2 separate regions of the Homo sapiens genome follow, and region 2 is linked to region 1. The links are contacts of gene promoters, found by promoter capture Hi-C in blood cells and fetal thymus (Javierre and others, 2016). All regions are on one chromosome and are shown on one strand. The core of a region is centred on a gene start or on the middle of the fragment in contact, and the rest is flanking DNA. Distances in the headings are between cores, read along the strand shown.

Region 1 (5,034 bases), core at 1,979-4,478:
AAATGTTTATGGCAACTTTATTTGTTGTAATAGTCAAAAATTGGAAACAATTCAAAGTTCAACAGATGAATGGTTAAACAAATTTTGATGTGATCATAAAATGGACTACTACTTACCAATAAAAATGAACTATTGATACAATAACATGGATTAATCTCAAAATAATTGTACTGAGTGAAAGAAGCCAGACAATAAAAGAGTACATACTATATGATTCCATTTATATAATACTCTAGAAAATGTAAACTAGTCTACCGTCACAGAAAGTAGGGCATGTTTGTGGCAAGGGAAAGGAAGGATGGAGAAGGTATTAAAGAAGTACCTTTAATGGTAGATAGATATATGGTTACTATCTTGATTTTGATGACAGTTTCCTGGATGCATACATATGTCAAAATTTATAAAACTGTACACCTTAAATATCTGCAATTTATTGTATATCAATTTTACCTCGATAAAGTGATTTAAAAGAAAGAGAGTGGCCGGGCATGGTGGTTCATGCCTGTAATCCCAGCACTTTGGGAGGCTGAGGCGGGCAGATCACCCAAGGTCAGGAGTTCAAGACTAGCCTGGCCAACATGGTGAAACCCCATCTCTATTAAAAATACAAAATTAGCTGGGCGTAGTGGTGCACGCCTGTAATCCCAGCTACTCAGGAGGCTGAGGCAGGAGAATTGGAAATCGTGCCATTGCACTCTAGCCTGGGCAACAAGTGAAACTCCATCTCAAAAAATAATAATAAATAAATAAAAGAAAGAGAGCTATCATCCAGCATAGAACCATGTTTTGAAGACAACTATTAGTGCTATCTCAATATGAAAATTATCAAAGCTTTATAGGAATTCTGATCACCAAATTAGCAAGAGTGGTGCCTATATCTGAGAAGAAAATATCTACCTGTCCCATAGAAACTTGCCTAATTTTTCAATTATGTTTCCTCATGGCCTCTCTCTCTGGCAATTTCAACTTTAGAAATCTGTTTATTCCTAATTGCTGTAATAATTCTCCTACTTTTATGTGTCACTGTTTACTTTGCTCCTGAATACCCAGCTAATCTCAACAGTTTCTCTCGCTCCATCCCTCTCCATTTACCACAGGCATTAACTATGTGAAAGGGAAGGTGAAAGATGGGAAGAAAGCCACAAGATTGGTGGTCTTAGAAGACAAGTTGCCGTCAACCTAAAGAAAGATCAATTGAAGCTGGGCTAAACCCTTGCCAAGATTCTGAACCAGTCCCTGATCACCAGTAATACTTACAAGATGCTGACACTATCCTCTCCTCTGTGTTTACAATCAGGTTTTCACAATAACCAAGTTCCCTTCTAGAAGACAATTATCATGAGAAAAAACATACAGTACTCAAGAAAGCATGATATGTAACTTACCCCTGCTAACTCTTAAATTTTGAGGGCTGAGGCTACTACTCAGACCCATTGGTTTTTTAATCTATCTACTAATTTATAATTTACCTATCTATCTCTATATATATATATATATATATATATATATATATTTTTTTTTTTTTTTTTTTGAGACAGAGTCGCACTCTGTTGCCCAGGCTGGAGTGCAGTGGTGTGATTGATCTCAGTTCACTGCAACCTCCCCGCCTCCTGGGTTGAAGCAATTCTCGTGACTCAGCCTCCCAAGTAGCTGGGATTACAGGCTTGTGCCACCATGCCCAGCTAATTTTTGTATTTTAAGTAGAGATGAGGTTTCACCATGTTGGCCAGGCTGGTCTCAAACTCCTGACCTCAGGTGATCCACCCACCTCGGTCTCCCAGTGCTGGAATTACAGGCGTGAGCCAACACGCCCAGCCACCTATGTATTTTTATAGAGACAGGGTCTCATTCTGTCACCCAGGCAGGAGTGCAGTGGCAGTGATCAGAGCTCACTGCAGCCTCCAACTCCTAGGCTCAAGTGATCCCTGCAGAGTAGCTAGGGCTACAGGTGCACACCACGACCAGTATTTTTTTGTTTTGTTTTATCGAGACGGAGTCTTGCTCTGTTGCCCATGCTGGAGTACAGTGACACAATCTCAGCTCACTGCAACCTCCGCCTCCCGGATTCAAGCAGTTCTCCTGTCTCAGCCTCCCAAGTAACGGATTACAGGCACATGCCACCACACCCAGCTAATTTTTGTATTCTTAGTAGAGACAGTGTTTCACCATGTTGGCCAGGCTGGTCTCGAACTCTTGACCTTGTGATCTGCCTGCCTCGGCCTCCCAAAGTGCTGGGATTACAGGCATGAGCCATTGTGCCCGGCCCTTGTTTTGTTTTTTTAGAGATGGGTTCTTGCAATGTTGCCCAGGCTGGTTGGTCTCCAAGTCCTGAGCTCAAGTGATCCTCCCACCTCAGCCTCCCAAAGTGTTGGGATTTCAGTTGTGAGCCACTGCACCTAGCTAGACCCACTGGTATTCAGAGCAGTGATGAGCACCTTGCTATGCACACACTAGTAATAACAGTAAATTGTAAATCAGTAAATAGCAATTGTATAACCTAAATAAAAATGAATTATCTAGTTCTTTAGGTCCCTAGCTTATGCCTTTTCTCCTCCTTAGTAGAAAAGTCAGAACTCTGGTATTTAGGACAAAGTCTTACCTTCTTTCTTTCTGCTGTGTCCGCTGAGTAAGGCAAATATTAGAAAAGCAGCTAGGCCAGTATCATGGGACTCTCAGTTGTTTTTGCTTTGGGACCTTTGACTGTCAGTCTCAGCCCAGCAATTTAACGTATTTTTCTAGATTAAACAGTGTTGCTTCTGAATTCCTCCCTTGGACCTTGGACTGCTGGGTCCTTTCAGGAGACAAAGGATACCAGATTGGGGAGTACGGGCTACTGTTAGACAATGTGAACTAGGAGGTGACCAAAGTTGACCTTAGAGTCAACTTAATTTTGCAGGTGAGGGAACAGAGACCTAAACGACCACTGGCTCCCAGTAAAGCAGATTCGCAGCATACTGTGCTTTGCCTGAATGGGTGTTGTAGACACAGGGGCAGAGGCGTGTTTGGAGAAAGGGTTCAGAATTTGGAGTGCGACAGACGTAGGTTCGAACAGAGCTCTGCTACTCTGTGGCTGTGAGGGCTCCCGCACACACCCTCTCGAACGCTCGGCTTCCTCATCGGTCCGCAAGCCTGGGTGCGAGGCGTCAACGCGCAGCTGGGTGCGCAGGAGGCCCCGAGGCCGGATGGGCCGCCGCGCCGACGCCCCCTGCCGGCCGGCCCGCGCCCAACGCTCGGCTTGTGGGACGCCCGCGGTCGGATGCCCTCCGTCCGCTCCCTCCTCCGCCTCTTGGCCGCCGCGGCGGCCTGTGGCGCCTTCGCCTTCCTGGGCTATTGTATTTACCTCAACCGGAAGCGGCGCGGGGACCCCGCGTTCAAGCGCCGCCTGCGGGACAGTGAGTGGGACCGAGGCGGAGGCGCGGCCGGGCCGGGCAGCGCGGGCGGGCTGCCGGCCGGGAGGGCCCCCCACTGAGAGGCCGGGCCGTGAGTGCCTCAGCCTCTGCCGAGGGGCCCGCGGCGCCCGGGCAGGCAGGACCACTGGGCCCACGCGTGCCTCTGGACGGGCCTCCCAGCCAGCATGTGCCGTGTTGTGTTCGCAGAAAGAAGAGCAGAGCCTCAAAAGGCTGAGGAGCAGGGCACGCAGGTGCAGTGCTTTCGATCCGCACAGGTAGCTCAGTAGACGCAGGTCCGGGCTCGCTGGGTTGCTTGGCTCCTGGCGGGCTCGGCAGCAGGTAGTTAGTTCCCTCAGCCGCCCGTGCCCGGGAAGAGGCCTGCCCTCGCGCGCCACGCACCGCCTCAGGCCCAGTCACTCTCCTCTCACAAAAGGGAGGGAAGGAAGGAGGAAGAAGTTGGAGTTATAAAAAGGCAGCTGCAAAGCAAAACACTGTACAACAGGCACTTCTTTTAACTGGAAGAAGGAAGAGGAGCCTTTTGCCCTGTCAGAGCCGCACAGGACACTTAAAAACCCAGGCTGGCCACGGTCACATGGCAGTAACTTCTAGATTGTTCTCCCGCAGGGCCTTTCTTGTAGCTCAGAAGCAGAAGGCATCTTCGTGTTTTGTAAATCTCTGCGGCAAAATTTGATTAGTCCCTTTTTTGTTGTTTTTAAGAGGCGGGCCGGGCTTGGTGGCTCACGCCTGTAATCCCAGCACTTTGGGAGGCAAGGCGGGCAGATCACGTGAGGTCAGGAGTTTGAGACCAGCCTGGCCAACATGGTGAAAGCCTGTCTCTACTAAAAATACAAAAATTAGCCGGGAGTGGTGGCGTGTGCCTGTAGTCTCAGCTACTTGGGAGACTGAGGCAGGAGAATTGCTTGAGTCCGGGAGGTGGCAGTTGCAGCCTGGGCGACAGAGCAAGACACTGTCTATAAAAAAAGAAAGAGACAAGGGTGTTCCTATGTTGCCCAGGCTGAACTAGAACTCCTGGCCACAAGCAATCCGCAGTTGATGCTGGATGTTTACTTAGCTGAGATTGTTAGCCAGAGCACCTACACGTCTGTGTGATCTGGGATTCTTCATTTGTGTGATGGGCTGTGTCCCAAGGGACAAGCAAACACATATATGTATGTGTGTATATATATGTGTGTGTGTGTGTGTCTGTGTATAGAGAGAGCACGCACATGCATGTGAACTAGAACATGTGCCCATGTGGAAGAGCAGATGGTACCACTTCTGGCAACATTGAAGCCTACTCAATTTAAAGGGAGAGGAAATAGATTCTACCTCTCAACAGGGATGGCAAGGTTTTGAAAGCACTTGTGTGACCGGGAATATTGCGGTAGCCATTTTTGAAACATGCAGTTTTTCCGGAGAAGACTTTGTAGCGGAAGTGGCATTGAACTGAGCCTGGAAGGATGATGAATTTGTGGCTTGGTTTCAGGGGAGAGGATACAGGATGGAGGGAACAGCATGTGCATAAAGATGCAAAGTGGGGCATCTGCCAAGCACATTCAGTAAACCAGTTTGGCAAAGGAGTCATACTGAGGAATAGTGGGTGGTAAGGTTGGAGAGCGAAAGTAGGATTGAATTAGGGAAGGCT
Region 2 (4,714 bases), core at 1,026-3,525, 300 kb before region 1:
TATTAGCCAAAACAGGGAACAACTCAGTTGTTCATCAACAGGTGACTAGATGAGCAAAACATGGTATATCCATACAATTGAATACTAGTCAGCTATATATATGTGTGTGGATGTGTATGTGAGTGTGTGCATGTGTGTACATGTGTGTATGTTATATATAACAAAGAACAAACTACTGATACATACAACATAGTTGAATCTCAAAATCTTTATGCTAAGTGATCTAAGCCAGACACAAAATGGTATATACCATATGATGTCATTTGTACAAAATTCTAGAAAATGCAAACTAATCTATAGTGACCAAAGGCCAGTGGTTATCTGGGGTTGAGGACTGGAGGAGGGATGCACTGCAAAGGGGCATGAGGAATCACTGGTGGTGGGATGATGGAAATGCTCTGCGGCATGATTGTGATGGGGGTTGCATGGGTGTATACAACTCTCAAAACTCATCAAATCATAAGCTTTCAGTGGGTGCAATTGTGTATAATACATACCTCAGTAAAGCTGATTCCTTAAAAACTTGACTCCTATTCAGTGGTAAATTTGCATTGAGGAGCATGATAATACCACAGCCCAAATGATCATTTTAGCCTTGATTCAGAGCCTCCTTATAGTTTTCTAAGACCCTCTAATTACTTATAATTACTCAAAGATGGTAAGTCCACTTCATAAGTGGTGAGACTTCATTTCTTTGATCACAATCCAGGGTAGATGCCATATGATGTTCCTAATTCTGTGCTAAGGCAACCCTGTCTCCCTCGCTCCTCTCTCCGGTAAAGTACTAGAGCATCCGAATATCATCCCATCCATACTGAAAGGCTGTTTAACTGTACATGATACCTCCATAGTATAAAGCTGTGCACAACCCGAGGAGTCACTTTACGTGTAGATTTGTGTCTGTTTTTAACCTGTTCGGTATAAATTATCTTTGTATTTTGTATCTTATTTCATTCATTTCAAACCTGTTCATGTAGAACAGAAGCATTTCAGACTAAATATTCATTCACTTGTTCACAGACCAGAGATAATCTTATTTTGTGTTTGTTTTATAGTATTTTGATATTATAATGTTTTGATACCCTTATAAGTTTTTACCAGTTTCATGTGACATGTTTTTAAAGTAATCATTGCCCAATGCATGCTGAATTTGGCCAGAAAGTAATTCAAGAAATCTTGTCTGTCCACTGGAAGCCCATCCCTTACTATCTTCTCTCCTTCCTATAGCATATTACACAGGAAATCCCAGCTACATGTCAACTACAACCTGTATGCCAATCTATAGAGTGCAACTCCCAGAATTACATCCAGAGCAAAGGCCCAGACCAACTTACAAGTTTTCAATGACATATCCCCAAAACTAGTATTTGTACCAGTTTTTCTGACTCTTAACCCTAACATCTGCCACACTGAAGGAATCAATGGGCCTAGCTGTTAAAGACTAGGAGCATTTTAGAGAAGAGTTTCCTTGGAGAAGAGATTAATTCACCTCAGGTCAAGGGAATAGGGCCTCAAGGAGTCACTGAGAGCTTAATAGCGTCTCCCCTGACAAGAGGAGAGGGACAGACTGGGGAGCTTCCCTGTCGATGTGGAAGGAAGTGCTGAGCTGAGGAGCGGCCTGCATCCTCCAAGTCTCTCACCACAAGCACGGGCCATGAATAAGAGAGAGTGAGCATGGAGTGGTCTGGCCACCCTAGCTGCTGAAATGAAATCGTGTTTGACAAGGTAATGCAGCCACAAGTCTGAACAGAAAAATCATGGGACTGCCCAACTGCTCACCCACAAGCAGGGGAAGAACTTCCCCTAGGTAATAGATTCCCAAAGGACAGAGCGGAACAAAAAATGCATTTGTTCTTCGACTCTGTCCCATGGTGCTGCTTGTCCAACATCCTGGTTACACGTATCTCCTCCCTGTGCGGATGTCCTCCTAAAGCCTACAACTGTCTCCCAACTGGGAAGGAAAAACTGAATTTCTTCCAAACATCAGGCAACTGTACTCATAATAGGCAGCTGGAGACTGTTTGGAGCCTGGCTACTTAAGGGCATAAATATAAACTCATCGAAGAAATAAGTGATCATTTTTAATTTTTAATTATCAGTTATTTCTTCGGTGAGTTTATACTTATATTCTTAACCACCCATAAATGTAGAAACCACCCATAAACAAAGAAAATCCATTTTTCTTTACAATAGATGGCAATGAAAGAAGGCTGTCATCTGAGAAATATAAAAGGAGGGGAGAAGGGAGGAAAAGGGAAATACACATGACTCTTACCCAGGCCTTGATTCTGCTGTTCCCACTCGAGGGCATCTGGCACCTGGTAGGTAGCTCCCTCCAACAGGTCCATGTTTCCCTCCTCTAAGCCTGGTTCCTGGGATGTGATACCAGGGAGGGTAAAACCTGGCAGCTCAGTGTCACCATCCAAGCCCTCATCCAGCGAGTCTGCATCTTTATCTTCCTCATCTTCTTCCTCATCTTCCTCTTCTTCATCTTCATCTTCTTCATCCTCTTCATCCTCATCTTCTTGTCCCTCTAGGCAAAAAGAAATCAAAGGGAAGCATAAACATATAATGAGTTTATGCTGAAACAAATGAATCCTTGGAAATGATCCAAACACTACAAAATAATTGTTTGGCCTTTTGAAACACATCTTTATAGCCAAAGTCAGACAATGTGAACTTTGCAGGATTATACACCCACCATATGTCCTAGAGTTTAAACTTTCAAAACCATAGTTATGTCAGATAAGTATCAGGTATTATGTTTACTGGGAGTCAAAGTTCAAGTAATATGATTTGTTATTAAAGTTATTTATATTTACAAGGGTAGTAAACATCCCCTTGCTGTTTTCTGGAGATCATTAAAAGTTTATCAGTTAGCACACTGTGAAATACTAACAGAACTTAAAAGAAGCTGTTCCCATCCCTTTATAGCTCATAATGTTAAAGGAGACAATTCATTATTTTGGCACAGCTTTTTCTATTCATCCACATCAGTGAGTAGAACTCACAAAAATGGTAAGTGAGGAGCACATAAATTCACTCTTGGATCTTGTTCTCTCTAAGGAAGAGTAATCCAAGAAACTGGAAATAATTGCATCAACATTCTCAATCCAACTCTAAAGGAATTGGGAAGTGGGATATTCACCAGGAGTGGTCAGAAAGGCAGCACATTAAAAATTACCATTATCTTCATTGTAAGAGTTAACATTCACAATTCGTCGTTTTCTTGATTTTTTTTTTTTTATTTTTTATTTATTTATTTATTTATTTTTGAGACGGAGTCTTGCTCTGTCACCCAGGCTGGAGTGCAGTGGCGTGATCATGGTTCACCACAGTCTCAGACTCCTGGACTCAAGCCATCCTCCTCCCTCGGCCTCCCACAATGCTAGTATTATAGGCGTGAGCCATGGCACTTCACCACAAGCTGTCATTTTCAATGCTCCAAGTGGAGTGGGTTTAAGGAACATATGATTCCCAATTTCATTTTGTTTCACCAATGTTAATTTCCTAGTAATACTTCAAGGCCCCATCCTCACCATGGATGCACCTCTGAAGCCCCTGGTAAGTGCCCACAAAGTTCACAGAAGGCCTTCCCTTTGCTCTCTCCCCTTGACTCTCGGCACAGCAGTTACTGCAACAGGTAATTCTCCTCCTATGGTGGAGAAAAGAAGGGAAGAAGAAGAACTGGAGCCACCCAAGAATTGTGAGACTCTCCTTTTCTGCTTCTACACAACTTTCTCCACCCATACTACCTTTCCTCTATCATTCAGAGGCTTTTTAACTTTTAAAAAAAATCACCTTTAATCTTTTTTTATTCTTATATGTCCTTTAACTTTGTAGGATTAATGTCTGTCACTATTCTAAAAATTCAACAAATATGTATCAACCCCCTAACGGGTGCCGTTGCAGACACTAGGGATAAAAGCAATAACGTCTCTGCCTTCGTGGAGCCCATGTGCCACCCAGGGAGACTCACAGCAAACAAACAGATACACCAATAGGCAGGTGACTCTACACTCTCATTAAAACTGGCAAGAAGATAGAAAACGCCAGGCACTGCTATTTTAGAAAGGGTGATTAAAGAAAGCTTTTCTGACAAGGTAAAGTTTGAACAGAGGCCACACCAAAATAATGCATTCTTTTGTTTAATTTAAGTCAACATCTACAGGAAGAGCATTCCCAGTGGAGGAAATGGCAAGGACCTAATCCTTGAGGCAGGTGTGGCCTCGCTGTGTTCAAACAATGGCAAAGAAGCCTGGGCTGGGAGGCACAGGGCAAATACAGGAAATGAGGTAGGAAGAAGTAGGCAGGGGCCAGATCTGACTTTTTTTTTTTTTAAGTCTTTTATTTATTTCAATAGGTTTTTGGGGAACAGGTAGTACTGACTTATATTTTTAAAGAATGACTCTAGCAGCAGGGTGGAGAACAGGCTATATCAAAGCAAGAGATGAAAAAAGAAGGCTGACAAGGAGTCCACTTAAAAACCAGGAATAGATTATGGTGCTTTGGACTAGGGTACAATCTGGAAAGAGGAGAGAGGTAGTCATATCGGGGATGTAATTTCAAGGTAGAACCCTGCTGATAAGTACAATGTGAGATGCAGGAGGAAGATCCCACATGACTGAAAACGGGATCTAAAAGATAAGGAGTCAAAACAAGAATTTGCATTTGAGATACAGTAACTGTGTGATGGCCTATGGCATCCAAGGGA

The links. Contacts are between HindIII fragments. The CHiCAGO score rates a contact against its expected background, and 5 or more counts as called.
Region 2: a contact is called between a fragment that was not itself captured here and the fragment with the promoter of TOMM20L in region 1, in 2 of 17 cell types (total CD8 T cells and naive CD8 T cells). The highest score is 5.6, in total CD8 T cells.

The regions. Positions count from the first base shown.
Region 1 is chr14:58,392,702-58,397,735 of GRCh38, forward strand. It overlaps TOMM20L (translocase of outer mitochondrial membrane 20 like), which reads left to right and starts at 3,229. Exons shown (of 5, transcript NM_207377.3): 1 at 3,229-3,392; 2 at 3,597-3,640. The coding sequence starts at 3,257. TOMM20L-DT (TOMM20L divergent transcript) reads right to left here and starts at 3,004. Exons shown (of 2, transcript NR_187161.1): 1 at 2,600-3,004. RefSeq lists silencers at 3,037-3,556, 3,627-3,676. The HindIII fragment of the contact is 7,740 bases long and covers 830-5,034 here.
Region 2 is chr14:58,094,449-58,099,162 of GRCh38, forward strand. It overlaps ARMH4 (armadillo like helical domain containing 4), which reads right to left. Exons shown (of 8, transcript NM_001001872.4): 5 at 2,276-2,533. Among named protein-coding and RNA genes, the nearest start is that of ARMH4, 55 kb to the right of the region's middle. The HindIII fragment of the contact is 3,626 bases long and covers 463-4,088 here.